Linked DNA regions of Homo sapiens: all the other regions are linked to region 2. Evidence: promoter capture Hi-C in human tissues and cell types (Jung and others, 2019). All regions are on one chromosome and are shown on one strand. Each heading gives the region's core, a stretch centred on a gene start or on the middle of the fragment in contact. The rest is flanking DNA. Distances are from core to core; before and after follow the strand shown. Region 1 overlaps ZHX2-AS1 (ZHX2 antisense RNA 2). Region 2 holds the start of ZHX1 (zinc fingers and homeoboxes 1). Region 3 overlaps ANXA13 (annexin A13).

Region 1 (3,637 bases), core at 412-2,911, 500 kb after region 2:
CTCACTGCCACCTGCTTCTGGCTGGGTGACAGATTGTATGTAGGGTGGAATGGGCCAGGTGGGAGGGAAGCCAGGTAACCCTCTAAACAGTCTGCTGGGTTCTCATATCTTCAGAGCACTTGGATCTCATGGACACTAGCAAGGATGAGGGGCTTCTGATGTGTTGCAGTGTTTTAAAATTGTTCAGAGTTTAGCATGGACTGAACTTGCACCATATAAAGAGAAAACAATGAGGAATAAGACAAAGGTGGCTTTTGCTTTATGTGGTATGATCCCTGTTTGCTTGAAGTATACTCATGGAGTAGACAGACCGTTATCTGACAGTATTTAGGAGCTTCAGAATCAATAATGTTGGACAAGTAAATGTTCAGCCAGGAAGTAACGTATGCCACTTTCACTTACAACTCATTGGTCAGAACTAAACACAAAGTTAACTGTAAAGATCCATGGAAGTATTGTGTGCCTGGAAATGGAGAGAATGGGAAAGATTTGCACTAATATGATAGCACTAAGGACTATCATAAATAATAATAGCAGTTCACAATTATTGATCATTTACCATGTGCTGAGCCTTTTATATGTATCATCTCATTGAATCATCACAAAAATCTATATTTTGTCTTTATTTTACCGATATAGAAACTGAGACTTAAAGAGCTTAAGTACTGTACCTTGCTCGACATCACACAGATGCTAAGTAATGGAGTTGGAATTTAAGCTTAATTTTACCTGCTTCCCAGAGAATAGACTTTTAAAACACTGTCCTCAACCACCTTTGGACTTAATTGGTCCCCTGTTGTTGGGCATTGGGTAGTTTCAATTTTATTCCAATGAACAACCTTGTGTCAGATCTTTTGAATCATCTGCGATTACTTCCTTAGGATAAATTCCTAGGTACATATTTGCTTAGTTGAAATATACACACATTTCAAGAATAAAAACCTTTTGCAAAAAGTGAAAGCTTTAGGAGGTGTGGTAGTCTTCTAAGATGGCTTTTTTCAATCCTTTCCTTCCTTTTTTGAAAAATACATCACCATTAAGAGGTGGAGTTTACTTCCCCTCCCTTGGAATCTGGACTGGTCCTGTGATTGCTTTGGATGCAATGAAAGTGATATTCTGAGACATCTAAATCCAAGTCTTAAGAGACTGGCAGTTTCTGTTTCCTTCCTTTTAGGGTCCTGCTGCCATGCTGTGAGAAGCCGAAGTTTCATGGAGAGGCCACATGGAGTGAAAACAAAGGTGATAGGGACAATAGCTCCACCTGAGATCCTGATTAATACACAGACTTTAGCCATCTTGGATGCTCCAGCCTAATCGATCTCCCACTTGACTCTAGTCTCACCTGACATTATGTAGAGGAAAACCATCCAGCTCCACCTAGTCAACCCACAGAATAATGAGATGATCATAAGACTGTAGTTGTTTAACATTATTAACTTTTGGGGTGGTTTATTACACAGTGATAGATAAATAAAATGGGAGTTATTATCCGTGTCTTTATTTGCACATATATCTGAATATTTCAGATCTACTTCCCCCTGAACTCTGCAGGGTATAGGTAGCATTGTGAAATATTGGAGGCCAGGACAAGGGGTAGAGAGGCCTCTTGGTCCATGATGCCTGAGCTGGCCCACTCTCCAAATCAAAGCTTTTCTTGATTTTAGTTGTTGCTCATGAAGGATCCCGCGCCACAGGTCCCAGATCCTAAGCAAATAAGAACTCATTTATCAAGCATAGATACTCAGTAGGTACTGGAGTTAAGTTCCTGTTTGGTGTTGCCAAAAACAGAGGTTTCCATTATTTAAGGATATACACTGTGATAGGGAGTGCAAGTGCCCACCATGTACATGGCTGCCTGGGAGGTGCTTCTTATACTTTATGTAATTTAATCTTTTAAACAACCTTCTGAATAGTATATTGTCTCCTTAATTTGTGGGAGAAAACAAGTTTATAGAAGCTTATGAATTATCCATGGGCCATACAGCTGATAAGTTAGAAGCAGGTCTTGAGCCCACATTTGATTGATTACAAATCCTGCCTGCTTCCCACTATACTTGTGACTTGCAAATTAACTCATGTGCAAACCCCCTTCACCAATTTTGTCCCAGTAGCAAAGGAACTACCTATAGTATTTTTAATTTAACATTTTATTTGGCCAGGGTCATGGCTCACACCTGCAATCCCAGCACTTTGGGAGGCTGAGGCAGGTGGATCATTTGAGGTCAGGAGTTTGAGACCAGCCTGGCCAACATGGTGAAACCCCATCTCTACTAAAAACAAAAAAAAATTAGCCAGGTGTGGTGGTGAGTGCCTGTAATCCCAGCTACTCAGGAGGCTGAGGCAGGAGAATCGCTTGAACCGGGGAGGCAGAGGTTACAGTGAGCCAAGATTGTACCACTTCCAGCCTGGTGACAAAGCTAGACTCTGTCTCAAAAAAAAAAAAAAAAAAAAAAAAAAAGAAAACATTTTATTTACATTGATTCACATTTTTAAAACTTAAATGCACTTATTTCATACTAATACTAAAGAAGCCTTTTGTCACAATAGAAACAAGAAAATCCAATATTGAATTTTCAAATGAACCAATGAAAGGTAACAGTGAAAATAACCATGGGAAAAAAAAAACAGCACTATTGAGCTAGCTAGATACTCTTATTTGCAGAAGGTAGAGATGGAGGGGAAAGGTGTTAGAAGGTTATTAGAGACAGGGTAGCACCAAACTGAGAATTTTTTCTTGAGCTAATTAAAAGGATGGGAAGAGAATTGAAAGTTGTAACTTTCTCTGAGTCAGAGCTATTTTGTGCTGTACCTGGACATCATTTAAAACCATCTCATGGCCACACATGCTACTTAAGCGGTACATGTTTCACACTGCTGACACCTGGCTGCCTGTCACAGTTCTTCATGTATGAATCTATTACAATGTTGCTCCCTCTGAGAGCATAAGAATCAGTGCCACGGGTTGAAGGGCTGAATGTTTGTGCTCCCTTGCCCCCCAATTCATATGTTGAAATCCTAATCCTCAATGTGATCATATTAGGAAGTGGGCGGGGCCTTTGGGAGGTGATTAGATCATGAAGGTGGGGCCTTCCTGATAGTGATACTGGAGTGCTGGGTAGAGAAATGTGGGTCCCTGGCCAGGGCTCCACCCCTACAGACCTAGGTGAGGACAGGCTTTTGTGAGGACTAGGCTAGGTGAGGACTCCTGCTTTTGTGTCTAAACGTTGCATTTTCCAAGACCACCCTGGCCCGCCACACCCTCATCCTGGTCCTATAAAAACCCCAGACTCCAGCAGGTAGACACAGGCAGCCAGATGAGAGGGGCAGTTGGAGAAGATTTGGGCCGCTAAGCAGCCTGACTCCAGGGGAAAACCATCTCCCTTCTGGCTCCCCCATCTGCTGAGAGCTACTTACACTCAATAAAACCTTGCACTCATTCTCCAAGCCCACGTGTGATCAGATTCTTCTGGTACACCAAGGCAAGAAACCCTGGAATAAAGAAATCCCTCTGTCCTTGTGATAAGGAAGGGGGTCTAACTGAGCTGGTTAACACAAGCCGCCTATAGACAGCTAAACTAAAAGAGCACCCTGTAACACACACCCACTGGGGCTTCAGGAGCTACAAACATTCACCCCT
Region 2 (3,428 bases), core at 389-2,888:
TTATCCTACACAAGTTTTAGGATTCCAGGATGAAACCTACAAATAAAAAGAATATTGTAGAACACTGATTTCAACGATCAGATTCCACGGCCAGGCGCGGTGGCTCACTCCTGTAATCCCAATACTTTGGGAGGCCGAGGCTGGCGGATCACTTGAGTTCAGGGGTTCAAGACCAGCCTGGCCAACATGGCGAAACCCTGTCTCTACCAAAAATACAAAAATTACCCCGGCGTTAGGTGACGGGCCCCTGTAATCCCAACTACTCGGGAGGCTGAGGCAGGAGAATCGCTTGAACCCGGGAGGCAGAGGTTGCAGTGAGCAGAGATCGCGCCATTTCACTTCAGCCTAAGCGACAACGCGAGACTCCGTCTCAAAAAAAAAAAAAAAATCAGACTTCCACTTGAAGCAATTGCATCTTTTAGGATTAATGTGGCTCAGCGGAGCTCTGCTGTGCTTTTAGGATTACTGTGGCTCAGCGGAGCTCTGCACAAAGGGTCCGCGACTGGGATGGGGGTGGGGAGTGAACGTCAAGGGGCCCAGGAGCGCTCGAGCGTCCAAGGCCCGGCGTGTGGAGCAGCTGGAGGGTGAGTCGCCGCTCTCCGCTTTGGTTCTGTTCCTCCACGTTCTGACCGCGGTGCGGGGGAAAGGGAAAGTGAGTAGGGAGGGGCGGAGACGCCGGGCAGTGTTCCCGAAACCCCTGGCCCTCGCTGGCCCCGCTGCGGGGCTGGTTCCCTGAAAGCCGACGGGATGTGAAGCCCTCGACTCGGACAGAAGCCTCTGGAAGAGCGAGTGGCGGTTCGCAGGGAGGAGGGCGGCTGAGGGGCAGAGGGCGGCTCCGCCTTGCCCGGCGGTTCTGAGTGCAGCTGAACTGAACTTTCGGTGTCAGCGGGTGGAGCTGCGGCCCGCGGAGGAGCGGGGTCCGAAGCGAGGAGAGGTGGAGCTGCCGCTGACAAGGGGCGCGGCGACTTCTGTCAGGGCGCTGGGCTCCCGGCCGGACTCGCAGCAGCCCCCCGAGGGGCGGGGCCTGGGTCGTGTCGCCCCAGGGGATGGGCGTGTGATGACAAGGGGCGTTTCAGTAGAAGCCAGCATGCTTACCTCTCACGATCCAGCAGTGACATTAGGAAGGCGGAGCGCAAGGAAGGCGGGGCTGCCTTCTGTGCTGACCCGAGAGAAGACCAGGCTTCAGTCCACAGCGGGCGGAGCGGTCGCAGGCAAAGGGCGGGGCCATTTCGAGCCCTGGGAAGGCGGGGCGTCTCCTGACAGGGGGCGGAGCTTCCGCAGTCTGGGGCGGGGCTTCTGTTGACAGGGGGGCGGGGCGCCTCCCTACCTCCCGCGGTGCGCCAATCCCCGGACTAGGGGCCGGGGTCGGACCCCAGTGGAGTAGCAGGGTCTGGGCGTGGAGAGCTCGGCGCCGCACGGGGTGGGGGCGCGCGGAGGACGCGCGCGCGGGAGGGCCCCGCCTTGGCCGGCTCTCTCCCTTCCCCCTCCGCCCCCGGACGGCCGCTGGGGCGCGCGCCTCTCCTCGCACCCCCACCCTGAGTCCCCACACTCCGCGGGGCCACCGAGCTGCTGAGGCCCCTTTGCGGGCCCGCCGAGCGGTTCCGGGTTTAGGGTTCACAGGTCAGAGTTGACTCCCTGAAAAGTGCAGCCGGTTTGAAATGCAAGATGGCGGCGGCGTGGCGCTGAGAGGCGCGGCGGCCCCTGCAGGTAGTGGCGCGAGCCGGCTCCGCGACCAGCGGGCCCGGAGACTCTGGGCTGCGGGTGGGAACTGGAGCGCAGAGTCCGCGGCCGGCACGGGAAAGGCGAGTAGCGCGGGGCCTGGCGGGAGGAGGGCAGCCTCACAGCAGAGACCCCTGGGGCTGAGCCCGCTCGCGGCGGCGGGTGGCGGGGTGGACCCGGCGTGGGGCGTCCGAGGGGGAGGGACGGGGCCTGCCTCGCGGCTGGGTAGTCGCCGCAGAGGGACAGACAGACCCACAGCCTCCCTCGCTCTTTTTGGGTGTCTCCGCCACCGAAAGAGCTTGGGGGCGGGGGGCTCTCTGGAGGGAACATCTCAGCCCCCTGCCTTGGTGAGGACCCAGCAACTTAGGATTGTTGAGAGGAGTGAAGACTGCGTATTCCCAGCGGAGGGCGCCGCCGGAGGGAGCACCCCAGTAATGTTGGGAGTCCTAGAGGAGGTCAGGAGCGCTGTCCTCCGGGGGCGTGTGGCTGCCTCGTGGGGGACCCAGTCTCCCTGAGAGTAAGGAGAGATTCTCTTGCTGGAGCTGAGCGCACTGACTGAGGTTGGAGCCCCAGCAAACCCTTCAGGAGAAGTCTTTACCTCCAGTTCAAGGAAGGCTATGCGCACCCGTTTCGGGGCCAGGCCATGTCCCAACTTTGGGAAAGACTGGGAGTTGAGTCCTTAAGAACCATATTACGATTGTGACGAAGCCCTGGGATTTAGGGAGAAGTTAATTAAAGAGGATGGTAGGGGCGTGGGGGTGTGGGGGCTGACCCATGGGAATCCTCCAAGCCTTAGGGCCCACAGTGAACAATCTACTAATACCTCAAGGGGTATAAAAGGCTGGGAAGGAGAGGTGTGAGAGGAACAAGGTCTAAGGGCAGGAAAGAAGAGCCCTGGCAGATCCCCTTTCCTTATATATTTACACCAAAGTTGGAGGTAAAGGGACTTGGCAATTCTTTGTTTTAGTACCTTTCCTGTCCTCTCTCCTCCGTGGGTAACTGTAAGGAAAGAGCATAGCCCCTGAGAAGGAAAAGATTCCATTTGATATCCTTAGCTTAGGTTAGTGAAGGATCCAGCAGCTGGGAAGGCGTCAATGAGAGACAGCAGGCGGGGGAATTAGAACAGAGACTAGGGATGAGAAAAGAGGAATACAGGGAAGATATCGGACAGAGCAGGAATTCCACAGCCCTTTTCTGTCAACTCAGCCCAGCTATTAGAAAAAAAAAAAAATGCGAAGAGCTAATATTTGAGAGAAAAATGTAAAGGCTGAGAGAGAAGTCGTGATGTGATTAGGTTGGGATTCCATGTAACTTAAGCAGTTCTCTTGGAGGTTAATGTGATAGCAGAAAAAGGAAAATCACAAAATTGGAAAATATACAGCGGTTCACGGTTAGGGAGGAAGAAGCAGTCTCCCCCCAGGAACAGTGAATATTTGGTTTGGGGTGTGTGTGTGTGTTGTGTGTATACATATATAAGAGCACTTTAGATTTGCTGGTGTTGGTCATTGTTTCTCAGTCTTTGTCTGAAAGCTTTAATTTGTGTTATATGGTGCTACATTAATTATCTTCGTTTCTGAAAAATTATTCTGAAAAAGTCATTTGTTTTTATGTCGGGAGCGAAGGTGAGCAGGAGTTGGTTTTAACAGGGAAATTGGCCCTAGTATACCCATCGATTATTTTAATTTCTAAAGTAGCAATTCTGACTCCTG
Region 3 (3,538 bases), core at 340-2,839, 450 kb before region 2:
GGCTGGGATGTTCACAACAATCTTGATGCAGACAAAGAAGCAGGAGGTGACAACAGGTTTCTCACTTTGAACTGATCTCAGCTCACACCTTCCTCCTAGTTACCTTATCTCAGCACTCATCTTTCAGATTTGTCATCTGGGTTTCTTTGCAAAAAAATTAAAGAATGTAAGACATCATGGTCCATTTCTATTCTTCCCTTTTAAGTTACCACAGCAATTTGCCCTTGGTGACTGGAGGCCTTGCTTTAGTCAGCACCTGTGTGCCGTTTACCACCAGAGGCTTGGCCTTCTCCACACTTTTTAAAGAGACCCGTTGACAGAATCGTTACAACCATTCAGCCAGGGTTGTGGACCCTTGGCACATTCGTCCTTGGCACTGCTGACATTTGGGACCAGGTAATTATTTGTGTGTGTGTGGGCGGGGGGAGGGGGGCTGTCTGTTCTGTGCATTACTGAAGGATGTTTAGCAGAATCCTGGCCTCTATCACTAGATATTCCAGTAATACTCCCCTACTCGTGCCAACTGAAAATGTCTCCAGACATTGCCAATTGTCTCCTGGGAGACAAAAATCGCTCCTGGTTTATTGAGAACCACCGCTTAAATGGGAAAACAAGGCTCCAGGGCAGATGTCCTCAGAATGTCTTTATGTCACTGGATCTCCACCAGAAATCACCATTCCTGCCCTTCTGGCCCAGGCATGTCCCTACACTGATTTCTTCTCTTATAACAGAGAAAAGTCAGCTTCTCCTGAAGATTGACCCTTATCCTCCTGTTGATGACAGCAGCAGCCAAGAGGCAGCAGTTTTTCTCAAAACTGTTAGCCCATGAGTAACAACTTCTTCTTTTTTAAAAATTCTTTATTTCTGTAGGTTTTGGGGGAACAGGTGGTATTTGGTTACATGAGTAAGTTCTTCAGTGGTCATTTGTGAGATTTTGGTGCACCCATCACCCGAGCAGTATACACTGAACCCTATTTGTAGTTTTTTATTCCTTACCCTCTCCCACCCTTTCCCCCAAGTCCCAAAAATCCATTGTATCATTCTTATGCCTTTCCGTCCTCATAGCTTAGCTCCCACTTATGAGTGAGAACATATGATGTTTGGTTTTCTGTTCCTGAGTTACTTCACTTAGAATAGTATTCTCCGATCCCATCCAGGTTGCTGCAAATGCCATTAATTCATTCCTTTTTATGGATGAGTAGTAGTCTATTGTATATATATACCACAGCTTCTTTATCCACTCATTGATTGATGGGCATTTGGGTTGGTTCCACACTTTTACAATCGCAAATTGTGCTGCTATTAATATGCATGTGCAAGTATCTTTTTCATATAATGACTCCTTTTCCTCTAGGTAGATACCCAGTAGTGAGATTGCTGGATCAAATAGTAGTTCTTATACCAGAGTGAGAAGGGTTTCACTGCAGAAACCCTCAGTAAAAAGGCTGCTGGGCTGCTGGATTTCCTGCCTAGATGAGCAGTGCTCCCCTGGAAAGACACAGGCTGGAACCTTCAGGAGCTGATTGGCTCACCTCTCCTCTGTTTGGGTGTAGCCCCCAAAAGGGCTACCCCACTTGGACTCCCTATACCACAGCTCAGTGCATGGCAGGATGCCCACATTGTTTACACTCCTGAGGATACCATCAGTACCTTCAGGTACAATGGTGCCCACCAGTTTAAGGCACAGCATATTGAAGGGCCTTCAAGTCAGGTCTCCTAACTCCTACCCAGCCCTGCAGTCACCTTTGATAAGTAAATATCACATCAACACGTGTAACCCAGATGGCATAGCCTAAGGAAGCTTGTCTTTCTGGAAAATGACCTAACTATACCAATCTTCATTAAAAGGTGCTGAAATGCCAACATGGAAGCAATCCCAAATGTAATAGAAAGGTCATGTTTTAATCTAAAGAACTGAACTCATTTTTCAGAACATACAGTCAACATATGCAAGCAAATCATGTTGAGCTGTGATCCAAATGGATGTTTTTCTAGTTTTAGTTTTAGTTGTTAAATGATACAAATATTTCTGCCCCTTTAGAGTGATAGCCAAACACTTAGTCATCATGTAAGTCACTGTAATACTGCATCTTGGAAAGGAGGTATCAACAGCAATGAACAACTCTGTAACATTCCAGCACCCTACTAAGGTGGGCAGAGCTCAAGTTTCCTAACACACTTTCCCAACAGCTCTCTGATCAACCCCCGCAGATTAATAAACTTCTAATGTGGGAAGAGGTTCTAGGCATGAAGGAATTGGCTTGCTTTTAGTCGGTGTGAGATCCTGGAGAATCCTAATGAAAACAGCAATAACTACATGATGAAATACCAAATATTCGTATTCAAACTGTGCTTAAATATACCCAACAGGGTATACTGCCAAATATATTTTTTTCTGTTGGGTAGTTTTATGACTTAATGAAACCAATATGTCACTAATCACCCAAGATTCATGCTTCAGATGTGAATGGCCCCTCTATTTTGTTTCAAATTGCTCATCAATCTCTACTAACCATGTCTGTGGAAATGTCACCAGGATATTTTCTGGCTCTGAATTCATGAATGTTAAAAGTACAATAATTTGCATTCATACTAACTGGCTTCAAAGTGCAAATGAGTAACCGGTTAGAGGTAAAAGAACATTGTTCTGAGAGAGATAGGAGATGGATGTTTCCATAAGGTGACCCTGAGCAGGTGACTTAACAACCAGGCTTCAGTTTCTTTATTTGTAAATGATGGGATTGGATACATTCAATGTCTCCCAAACTTCAGATTTAAGTACAACCTTCATGATTGTTGCCAAATATATGGGTTACCTCTTCTACTAATTATTCTATTAATTATTTTTAAATACGCACTTTTTAATATAAATTAATCTTAAAAGGAAATTTTATACTGATACCATAAATGGAAAATTAATGTCAGTTGACATAAATATAGATAACTAAATGAAAGCAAAAAGAATGTATTAAATTCTAACTAAATTTGATGTTGCCAGCTGAAGGGTAAGGTCCTATCCTCTGACTAAAAAAGGACCTGTTTACATGGTCCACATGGGATACAGTGGGAGTCCACAAAGTAAATAATGAGGCTTTGTGGGCCACAGAACCTCTGGTGCAAGTAGGTAACTACTCTGCCATTGTAGCGTGAAAGAAGCCATAGGCCAAATGTAAATGAATGGGTTGGCTGTGTTCCAATAAAACTTTATTTACAAAAATAAGTAATGGGCCAGATATGGTCCTCAGTCTGCAGTTTGCCAACCCCTGGATTAGACGAGTGTGAAAGATCCACTATCACTAAGCAAAGACTTAATCAGAAGAGTTGGGAGAGAATTTTAAAAGGAGTTCCTTTCCTAGCTGGAGGTCCAATGGCTTTAATGCTTTCAGTGTTCCATGTCACCCATTTGGAAAAACCTGGGTTCAATTTTCACTTTAAGATTTCATGCTAAACCTCTTCCCTTTATCTTTAGCATCTTGGATAAGGTCAAGGATTTCTTTCTTGTGTAAACCTTCAGCACATTTCTAAGTTGTCTTCCTCC

What was found. Contacts are between HindIII fragments. The study calls those that stand out against the background at their distance.
Region 1: a fragment that was not itself captured here is called in contact with the fragment with the promoter of ZHX1 in region 2 in 1 of the 25 tissues and cell types used here (spleen).
Region 3: a fragment that was not itself captured here is called in contact with the fragment with the promoter of ZHX1 in region 2 in 3 of the 25 tissues and cell types used here (hippocampus, lymphoblastoid cells and mesenchymal stem cells).

The regions. Positions count from the first base shown.
Region 1 is chr8:122,775,735-122,779,371 of GRCh38, reverse strand. It overlaps ZHX2-AS1 (ZHX2 antisense RNA 2), which reads left to right. Exons shown (of 2, transcript XR_007061082.1): 2 at 1,175-1,488. Among named protein-coding and RNA genes, the nearest start is that of ZHX2-AS1, 4.1 kb to the left of the region's middle. The HindIII fragment of the contact is 3,632 bases long and covers 1-3,477 here.
Region 2 is chr8:123,272,496-123,275,923 of GRCh38, reverse strand. ZHX1 (zinc fingers and homeoboxes 1) reads left to right here and starts at 1,638. Exons shown (of 4, transcript NM_007222.5): 1 at 1,638-1,707. It overlaps ZHX1-C8orf76 (ZHX1-C8orf76 readthrough), which reads left to right and starts at 1,638. Exons shown (of 6, transcript NM_001204180.2): 1 at 1,638-1,707. RefSeq lists an enhancer at 288-407 and silencers at 888-1,577, 1,778-1,977, 2,014-2,381. The HindIII fragment of the contact is 11,288 bases long and covers 1-3,428 here.
Region 3 is chr8:123,724,527-123,728,064 of GRCh38, reverse strand. All of the region lies in intron 1 of ANXA13 (annexin A13), which reads left to right. All of the region lies in intron 1 of LOC105375739 (a long non-coding RNA gene), which reads right to left. Among named protein-coding and RNA genes, the nearest start is that of ANXA13, 11 kb to the left of the region's middle. The HindIII fragment of the contact is 8,461 bases long and covers 1-3,538 here.